Regions from separate parts of the Homo sapiens genome. Here regions 1 and 3 are each linked to region 2. The links are contacts of gene promoters, found by promoter capture Hi-C in blood cells and fetal thymus (Javierre and others, 2016). All regions are on one chromosome and are shown on one strand. The core of a region is centred on a gene start or on the middle of the fragment in contact, and the rest is flanking DNA. Distances in the headings are between cores, read along the strand shown. Region 1 overlaps MFF (mitochondrial fission factor). Region 2 holds the start of WDFY1 (WD repeat and FYVE domain containing 1). Region 3 overlaps AGFG1 (ArfGAP with FG repeats 1).

Region 1 (3,006 bases), core at 493-2,992, 3.4 Mb after region 2:
ATTTTGATTGGTTTTAAGCAGAAAACCCAATAATTGGGATAATACAGTGTTAAATCTTAGTAGAAATCCAGTTACTTTTTAAATGTAAGTAGTTCAGCTACAGGAGAACTTGGCTTTTTCCAGAAGTTGGCATTTCAGCATCCACCTTTATTTTCTAAGTCACTAGTTTTTTACAAACTCAGATATTCTCGTAAGAAAAGATGTTGCTATAGAATGGAATATAGTAGTGAGACCTATGAGATGTACTACTAGAAAGTTCGTAAGACTGAAATGCAATGAATGGAATGCAGAGAAAGCACATTTCAAGGAGATACTGAGGTTCTAGCCACTTGGTTCTCGTTTATTATTATAAAACTTCAATTTATAATGGCCAAAGGCTATAATCTTTTTGAGGTAGCTTTTTTCAGTGTTAGTTCTGAATATGAGCTTTTGCTATGCTTGAGATACACGCAAGTATTAGAAGAGCATCTCATCTGGAATGATGCACAAAAATTGATTATAAAGGTTGCCTGTGGGAACCTGGGTGGTTAAGGATAGGATTGAAAGTGGGACACTTCCTTTTCTCTGTATAGCTTGCGTACTTTGTACCGAGTACATGCATTACTAGTTCAAAATTTTAACATCGTAAGTGAATGAAAATTTAAACAGGCCGGGCACGGTGGCTCACACCTGTAGTCCCAGCACTTTAGGAGACGAAGGCCAGAGGATTTCTTGAGCCTAGGAGTTTGAGATCAGCCTGAACAACATAATAAGACCCTGTCTCAACAAAAAATACAAAAATTAGCTGGGTGTGGTGGCATATGCCTGTAGTCCCAGCTATTCAGGAAGCTCCATTGCAATCTAGCCCGGGTGACAAAAAAAAAAAAAAAAAAAAAAAAACCAATTCATTTGTTCTTCTTTAACATATATGTGTACCTATATGCATATATATACGTAAGTATTAGATTCATTTAAACTTACGTATTTTTCATCTGCCACATTTTTCTAAATACAAATCAGAAACAATGACAGAGCTAGTCTTTTATATTGCCTTAACTAATGAATAGTTGTAGGACCCCATCTGTGGAACTAAGATTGGTGGTAAGCTTAATTTTTTTCTTTCTTTATTTTCTTACTGGTCTCTTGATGTCAGGTTGTGCATCTTTGTGACTGTTACTATTTGGAGAATTTCCAGTAATGAATCCCTAATAGTGGTTTCATCTAGTTTCTCAATTAGCCCCTGTTTTTCTTCCCCAGGGACAAAAGTGGCTCTCAATCCAGCACATGCACATTGAAGCAAGTTAAAGGATTTAATATGAAGCACAGAAGCAGATAGTGCCAAATAGCAAGCAGTAGTTGTTACACATTTGTGAGTAAAAATGGTCCCTTTTGGCTTACTTTCTTAGTCTTTAAATCGTCTGCATGCCAAATCCTTAAAGATCTATGTCCCCAGAGATTTTTTGATAAAGAATAAAAGATGTGAGTTAGCAGTCATAGTCAAACCAGTTGCTGGGGCTGAGCGTCCTGAGCAACCTCTAAGAGCTCTCCTAGGCATCTCAGTGAGGCGGGGGCTTAGGGTGGGGCTATATCTCCAGCATGGAGTTTAGGAAATACCTTAGCCATGGTAAAGTCATGTATACTGTCTTTAACTTTTTATGTCTTTAATTTATATATAGTGTCTTTGCTGAAAATTTAGTGTAATTTCCATTTGAAGTTTACCCTAAATTTTGAAGTTTATTTTTATTTAAAGAAACCATTAGACGTCAAATATGTAGGCTGCCTCAGTTACATTTACTTTTTACCCTTTGTATTCCCTTCATGATTTATTCATTTGGGCTTAGTCTTAAAAAAGGATTTTTCCCCTTTGGAGTATAATGATTAGAGGAGTTTTATGGCAGTATTGTTTTCTTCGAATCTGACTTCACATTTGTATATACATTTGATACAGCTTCTCTGTATCCTGTTTGCAAAATCATAAGACAGTGACTGTGCTTACAACTGTCTTTATGATTTTTGAGGTATAGAAAAACTCTTCTTAGGATAGATTTAACAATTGGTTTCTCAAATCAAGCCCTAAGCCATGTTCAAATCCAAAAGTCATTTTACGTAGATATTTACTTTTATTCATAGTTTTCTTATGAAATGAATTGTTGAAATACTGATTTTTATTCTTTCTTTTTTACAGCTGGAAAAGCAGTGTCCGTGTTGTTATGTACACCTCCAAAAAAAGTTCAAATGTGTAGGGGAATTGTTGTGTAAAGTAAACTGAACTGCAGGGTAGCAGTATTTTAATAGCTATTATAGACCTGTATTTACTGTATTTAAATGAGTAAAGGAACAAGCAGTGACACATCACTAGGAAGGTCAGTGAAATTTTATTCAGTTGAGCTGGTATTATAGGTTTGAGAGACAATGGCTTTAAAGCTTACTGCCGTAGGCTAACCATGCTCTTTTACATTTTTATCAGCTTTTGTATTGGCGGCAACATTCTTTCTACTGCATTAAAAAAAAAAACACATGTAAATATGATATTAAATACAGATTAATAGTGTAAAACTTTCAGTCCCTCCAAAAATGAATACAAACATGAGGATTTATTATTACAAATTCTAAATTTGGTATTCATTGCATCTCAGTCATTAGGAGAAGTTTTAGTTTGTATGATGTGATTTTCAGGGAGTTGCATCTTCTTTTTTAGTAAATTCAGAGTTAATGTTATGCATCTGTCATTTAAAGGTTTTGAATAACAGATGCATTTGTCATTTAAAGGTTTTATTTTTTCATGCATGACAGTAATTTTTAATTTTATATTTTTAAAGTCCAAGCAGCTTTCCCTCAAATTGATGAGGAAATTTTAAGTTTAAATTTTATTGCAGGCATTTTTTTAGTTACAAGCAGCATGCATGTTTACGCAGAGAGTATGTGTGTATGTGTGTGTACACATTTGTGTTGTAATTCTATAATAATTTAAAAAATTTGCTCCTAAGCAATATCCTCAAGGTACAATTTCAGCTGATAATTAAGAAG
Region 2 (2,982 bases), core at 481-2,980:
TATTTAAGACGGCTCATTGCATCAAGGAAACACAGTTTCATTCAATAAACATCAGTCATTTCCTTCAAATTCCCACCGGAAAGCTACTGACATTGTAAACCTTTAGGATTTGAAAGACGCTAAAGTTTAAAGTCGAATCATAAATACTGTTCCAATCCAATCACTCAGGCCCAGAGCTGGTGGGAGTTCTGGATTGCATTTCCGGCTTCACCAGTATCTCTGTAACTTAGCAGCAAGCTACACCTCCACCAGCCTCGGCTTCCTCTTAGGAGAAATGAGAAAACTGGACCCAATCAGTGTTTCCCAAAAGCATGGTGGGCGTCCAATGCAAGATGTCACAGTGCAAGAGAGGACTCTGTGTGCATGCCAATTAACATGTTTTAGTTATTAGTTTACTCTGTCTGGTGAGTAATGTTAGTTTTCCTAATAAATAAGATTTCCTTTTAAAATAAATGCATCCAAATATTTTTAAAAATGAGTCACTTTCACAAAAACCTATTTAGTAAATAAGAGTTCAGGTGATTCTAGCAGCCGTGGCAAAAATAACTGATCTAGAGGCCTGGCGTGGCGTGAAATCCCTGAGTACAGGGGGAGGAAGAGAGCGAAGGCGGCTGGAGTTCCTCGCAAAGAAGCAAGCCCCGGGCACCAGGGTCCGCAGTGACCAGCCGCCGGTCCTCCACGCTTCCAGAGGAGACGATTTGGAACTGACCCGGGAGGGCCAAGAAACACCTTCCGAGTACCAGGCTAAACCCCGCCAGGGAGAGAGACCGGGACGAAGGTCCCAGGCTAGTGCGACACCGCAGGTCGGGGTTCCCTGGTTGGAGGAGCGCGGTGGGCTGGGAGGGGCGCGTTGGTGCGCACTGGAACAGGGGTCCCCGGCTTGAGCAGCGCGGTGAGACAGAGTTCCCGCGCTGGAGGGGCGCGGTGAGACAGAGGTCCTGGGCTGGAGAGGTGCGTTGGGGCGCACTGGAACCGGGGTCCCGGGCTTGAGTGGCGCGGTGGGACAGAGTTCCCGGGCTGGAGGGGCGCAGTGGGACAGAAGATCCGGGCTAGAGGGGCGCGGTGGGACGGAGCTCCCGGGATGGACGGGCGCAGTGGGACAAGGGTCCCGGACTGGAGGGGCGCGTTGGGGAGCATTGGAACAGGGGTCCTGAGCAGGAGGGGCGAGGTGGGCTGGGAGGGGCGCGGTAGGGCGCACTGGAACAGGGGTCCTGGGCTGGAAAGACACGTTGGAACAAGGGTCCCGGGCTTGGGCGGCGCGGTGAGACGGAGTTCCCGGGCTGGAGGGGCGCGGTGGGACAGGGGATCCGGGCTGGAGGGGCGCGGCGAGACCGGGGTCCCAGGCTGGAAAGGTGCAAGTCGAGGCTGGAGGACCGGCGGGAGGGAACCGGGAACCCGGCGGAGCTAAGGGGCGCAGAGTGGGGGTGGGGCCGTGCTGCCGGGGGAGCCCCCTCACGCAGGAAGGACCGGGGCCGCGGACCCCACCGCCCCCACACCCCGTCGTCGCGGAGTTCGGGCCGCCCCGGCTGCGCCCGGGCCCTACCTGTCCTCGCTGGCCGTGATCACGCCGTCCTCCTTGGGGATGAGCAGCGCGGCCGTGACGGCGTCCTGGTGCCCCTCGATCTTGCTCAGCAGCACCGGGCGGCTGCTCTGCGGCCTGGAGTGGATTTCGGCCGCCATGTTCGCGCGGCGACTGCTGCGGCCTCCTCGGCAGGCAGCCCATCAGCTGACGCCTGGGCGGGCGGGGGACGCGCCGGTTTCCCTTCGGCTGCTGGGGCCTCTTGGGCGCCGCGCCGCCGTAAGCCCCCGAGTGCTGCCGCCGCACCGCCCGTATTGCCTGGGGATGCCGCGCAAGCTGAAAGTCTGTGGCTGGGAGAGGATGCCACGGGGCGCCTGCGGAGAAATGGGGAAAGTAAGGAAGGTTTAAAAGTAAAGCCATTCACCCAGGAATAAATTGAGCACCTGGAGGGGACAAGGAATTGTCCCCCAAACCAGAGATTTCAGAAATTACAATACTACATTTCATCCATTTGAAGAAGCCATTGTTTGAAAGGCACACACTTTCAGAAATGTTAAAATGTGAAAAAATATAGTGCATCTTAGAATCTTTGAACTACAATAGATAGCACTGAGTGGTGACCATATACCAGGCATTAACTCAGTGTCTTTGCATCTCATTTAATACTGATAATTTTAAGAGATGAAATAGATGCTCTTGTATTCCCATTTTAGAGATGAGAAAACAACCAGAGAAGTTTGATCACTACCTTAAGGTTGCACAGCTATGAGAGGGAGAAAAGCAGCCCTTGATCTCCAGGAGCTGCCTGGTACTATCAGCTGAGCTTTGGTGTTGCTAGGAAGTGTTTGCTTCCTGTGGAACATAAACATCAGACGAGGCCACTCCATAATCACATCTAAACACGGCCAAAATATGAGCGATGTACAAGCCACAGAAATTACCAAACATCCCCCTATCCTGGCTAATATGAGTGACTCTTATTTCTTTATTAATTATAATGTTAACCGCTATCTAGTCTTCCTCCATTTAGATAAGATTTATTAAGATATGCAACCTTAGAATTATACGCATTTCCTGACAACATCCAGTCCACAGGAGAGCCTCTCTTCCTTAAGCTCTCCCAGGTCACCTAACACAAACACAAATCCTATAATAAAACTGTCCGAACATCCCTTTACCCAGACACCTCACCATTCCCAATGGTGTGTCTTCTCCCTCCAACAAGCAATCAACCCCATTTGTTCCTGGTGGTTTTTGGCTAGAGGTCATTGACAACCAGTAAGTTCAAGAGCCAAAATTTGGACTCAGGAAGTCAATGACTCCAAACTTCTGCCCCACTATATTATTCTGACACCTGAATTGCAGAATTGCATTAGAACCGTACTATCCACATGACTATAGAGCACTTGAAATGTGGCTTGTCCAAACTGAGATGTAGTACAAGTGCAAAATACTACAAGATT
Region 3 (3,413 bases), core at 92-2,591, 3.5 Mb after region 2:
TTATTATATATAGAAAGCTAAATATATTCAGTTTTTTAATGTTGGACTCTGGATAGACGAATATTTTGGACTAGCCAACATATACGGTGTCTTGGCATCAATAGTTTGTAGATTTGATAACCTACTAAAGGCACCTTCCTTCCATCTGTTCTAGATTTTAAATGTATAATTTTATGCTATGAAACATATGTAATATTTTTAGTAAATAACTAGGATGGGCTAGATCTAAATGTCAACTTTATTACTTTCTGCCAGTATTATTGGCAACTACATAAACTTCCACAGGTTATTAAAAATATTTTTACCAGCTTCTCCCACAGCAGGAGAAAAACAATTAATAAAACTAACTAAATAAGCTTTCCTACTTACTCATCCAGCACAGATTGTTATTTGAATTGAACAAATGGTTATTTGCAAGATTGTTTGAGGCCTAGTTAAGAGCAGCACACTGATGGACATATGGAATGAGCCACACCATCTGGTTACAGTCATACCTGGGTGGTGGTCATTAAAACTAAATCTCCTGGGGATCTGCAGATGTCTTAATTATACTACAAAAATGTATTGGGCTGCACCAGTAGGCTACTTTGAACTTCTTGAAACCAGTTAACTTGCAAACATGTTTTCAAGATATCAAAACTGCAGTTATTGAGTCTTTTTTTTTTTTTTTTTTGCACAAAACTGAAGACTTAAAATGTGTATTTGAGGATCTGGAATGGGTGGTACTTCAGTATTGGCCCCATGAAAGTAATGTGGTTTACTTACCCAACACTTTCATCCAATAGTTATGACTAATATGACAGAAAAGTGTTTTATAAACCCTGAATTCACCCTGTAGCTAGAAGGGCTTTAGCAAAAAAGGGAAGTGACCTCAGGTTCACATCTTAAAAATACTTGTTTTGATTCACTGCAGGATTTTATTCACTTAAATGATCAAATTTGGTAGGTGAAGATAGTCTGCTAATGATAAATTTAATTACTCTAAAAATTGTGGTTACTATAGATACTAACACGAAATCAGGACTACAGTTTTTTTATTTCTTGACATACGTTATAATTTTTTGGTATGCAGTTCTGTGAATCTTAACATATGTATAGATTCATATAGCCACCACTCAAATTAGAACATGCAAGTTTTCCATCACCCCAAAAAACTTTTAGCCCTTGTTTTTACTGTACTCCTGGCAATTACTGATCTGTTCTCCAACACTGCAGGTTTTGTCTTTCCAAGAATGTTGTGTAAATGGACTCATAACTTTTCTAGATTGCCTTTTTTCACTCAACATATTATCTTTAAGATTAATCCAAGTTAGTTGTTGTTTATCTTAATAGTTTGTTCCTCCTTGTTGCTAAGTAGTATTCCATTGCTTGTTTGTTTTTCCATTTTCTGTTTGAGGAGTTTCTAGTTTTTGATATATATGAATGGAAATGCTGTAAATGTTTATGCTCAAGTTTTTGGGTGAACGTAAGTTTTCATTTCACTTGGGTAAATATCTAGGGCTAGGTTGTATGGCACATGCATGTTTAATTAAAAAATTGGCCAAGTTTTTTTGGTTTTGTTTTGATTTTTCCCTTTTACTTGTGGAATTCCGTTTTCTTTTTTTTATTATACTTTAAGTTTTGGGGTACATGTGCACAACGTGCAGGTTTGTTACATATATATACACATGCCATGTTGGTGTGCTGCACCCATTAACATTAGGTATATCTCCTAATGCTATCCCTCCCCCCTACCCCCACCCTCCATTTTCTTTTATGGTCACAATTGAAATTGTACTATTGATATTAACATTCCAGAGTTAATCAGTATTTTAATCTTCTGTTAATACAAGGTCTTTAAAAATACAAAGTAGTTTCATTTAAGTGGTGTTTCTTTTTTTTTGAGACGGAGTTTTACTCTGTGGCCCAGGCTGGAGTGCAGTGGCGTGATCTCGGCTCACTGCAACCTCTGCCTCCCAGGTTCAAGTGATTCTGCTGCCTCAGACTCCTGAGTAGCTGGGATTGAGGACTGCCACCACACCTGGCTAATTTTTCTATTTTTAGTAGAGATGGAGTTTTAACCATGTTGGCCAGGCTGCTCTCGAACTCCTGATCACAAGTGATCCACCCGCCTGCTGGGATTAAGATTACAGGTGTGAGCCACCGCGCCTGGCTCATTTAAGTGTTATTGTTGGTAAACATATTATTTGTCCCTTTTTTCCTTCTGTTAGTTGGATGTTACTGTAATAAGATGATATTTGTTTAGATTTGCCAGTTTACAGTTTGCTTACCCCTTAGCATCTCAAGACTTTCTTGGGTCATTTTTCTTCTTAAAGTATATACAGTATAAGCTTCTTTAATGAAGATCTCTTAGTTTTTTTTTTGTTTTTTTTTTTTTTTTTTTTTTTTTTTTTTTTTGAGATGGAGTCTCACTCTGTTACCCAGGCTGGAGTGCAGTGGTACGATCTTGGCTCACTGTAACCTCTGCCTCCTGGGTTCAAGTGATCTTCCTGCCTCAGCCTCCCCAGTAGCTGGGATTACAAGTGTGCGCCAACATGCCCGGCTAATTTTTGTATTTTTGTTGTTAGTAGAGATGGGGTTTCACCATGTTAGCCAGGCTGGTCTCGAACTCCTGAGCTCAGGTGATCTGCCCACCTTGGCCTCCTAAAGTGCTGGGATTACACACATAAGCCACCGTACCTAGCCTAGTGGGTTTTTTTGTTTTGTTTTTTATCTGAAGATACTGTTATTTTGATCTTATACTTCAAACATAGCTTTGCTGGATTCACAAGTTATTTTTTCTTACCACTTGAAGATAATATTCCATGGTCTTCTCCCTTCCATTGAGAAGTCTACTACGAGCCAAATTTTGTTCCCTATATTTTCATTCCAGTTGCTTTTAAGATCTTCTCTGTCTTTGAAGTTTCACCGAATCGTTTCTTTTTTTTTTTTTTTTTTTGAGACAGAGTCTCGCTCAGGCTAGAGTGCAATGGCGTGATCTTAGCTCACTGCAACCTCCAACTCCCAGGTTCAAGTGATTCTCCTGCCTAAGCCTCCTGAGTAGCTAGGATTACAGGCACCCGCCACCATGCCCAGCTAATTTTTTTTTTTTTTTTTTTCCAGTAGAGATGGGGTTTCACCAGGTTGGCCAGGAACTCCTGACCTCAGGTGATCCACCTGCCTCAGCCTCCCAAAGTACTGGGATTACAGGTGTGAGCCACCGCACCCAGCCCAAATTGTTTTTAAATTGGATTTTATTTATCCAGATTTTGATGAGCTGTGCTTTTTATATCTGTAGATGCATGACTTTTATTGGATCTGAAAAAAATCTCAGTCATTATCACTTCAGTGTTACCTTCCAGTTCATTAATTCTCTCTAGTTATGTCTAATCTGCTCTCTACCTGATTTGGTGAATTTTTAATTTCCACATTTA

The links. The method cuts DNA at HindIII sites, captures the fragments that hold promoters and counts their contacts. A CHiCAGO score of 5 or more calls a contact.
Region 1: a fragment that was not itself captured here is called in contact with the fragment with the promoter of WDFY1 in region 2 in 2 of 17 cell types (total CD4 T cells and non-activated CD4 T cells); the score reaches 6.2 in total CD4 T cells.
Region 3: a contact is called between a fragment that was not itself captured here and the fragment with the promoter of WDFY1 in region 2, in 1 of 17 cell types (naive CD8 T cells). The highest score is 6.8, in naive CD8 T cells.

Annotation. Positions count from the first base shown.
Region 1 is chr2:227,327,442-227,330,447 of GRCh38, forward strand. It overlaps MFF (mitochondrial fission factor), which reads left to right. Exons shown (of 9, transcript NM_001277062.2): 2 at 1,237-1,348. Among named protein-coding and RNA genes, the nearest start is that of MFF, 3.7 kb to the left of the region's middle. The HindIII fragment of the contact is 1,318 bases long and covers 1,084-2,401 here.
Region 2 is chr2:223,943,605-223,946,586 of GRCh38, forward strand. WDFY1 (WD repeat and FYVE domain containing 1) reads right to left here and starts at 1,731. Exons shown (of 12, transcript NM_020830.5): 1 at 1,544-1,731. The coding sequence starts at 1,680. It overlaps LOC124907989 (a long non-coding RNA gene), which reads left to right. Exons shown (of 2, transcript XR_007088100.1): 1 at 1-803. RefSeq lists enhancers at 543-662, 673-732 and a silencer at 1,303-1,482. The HindIII fragment of the contact is 5,306 bases long and covers 1-2,982 here.
Region 3 is chr2:227,482,325-227,485,737 of GRCh38, forward strand. All of the region lies in intron 1 of AGFG1 (ArfGAP with FG repeats 1), which reads left to right. Among named protein-coding and RNA genes, the nearest start is that of AGFG1, 12 kb to the left of the region's middle. The HindIII fragment of the contact is 1,974 bases long and covers 355-2,328 here.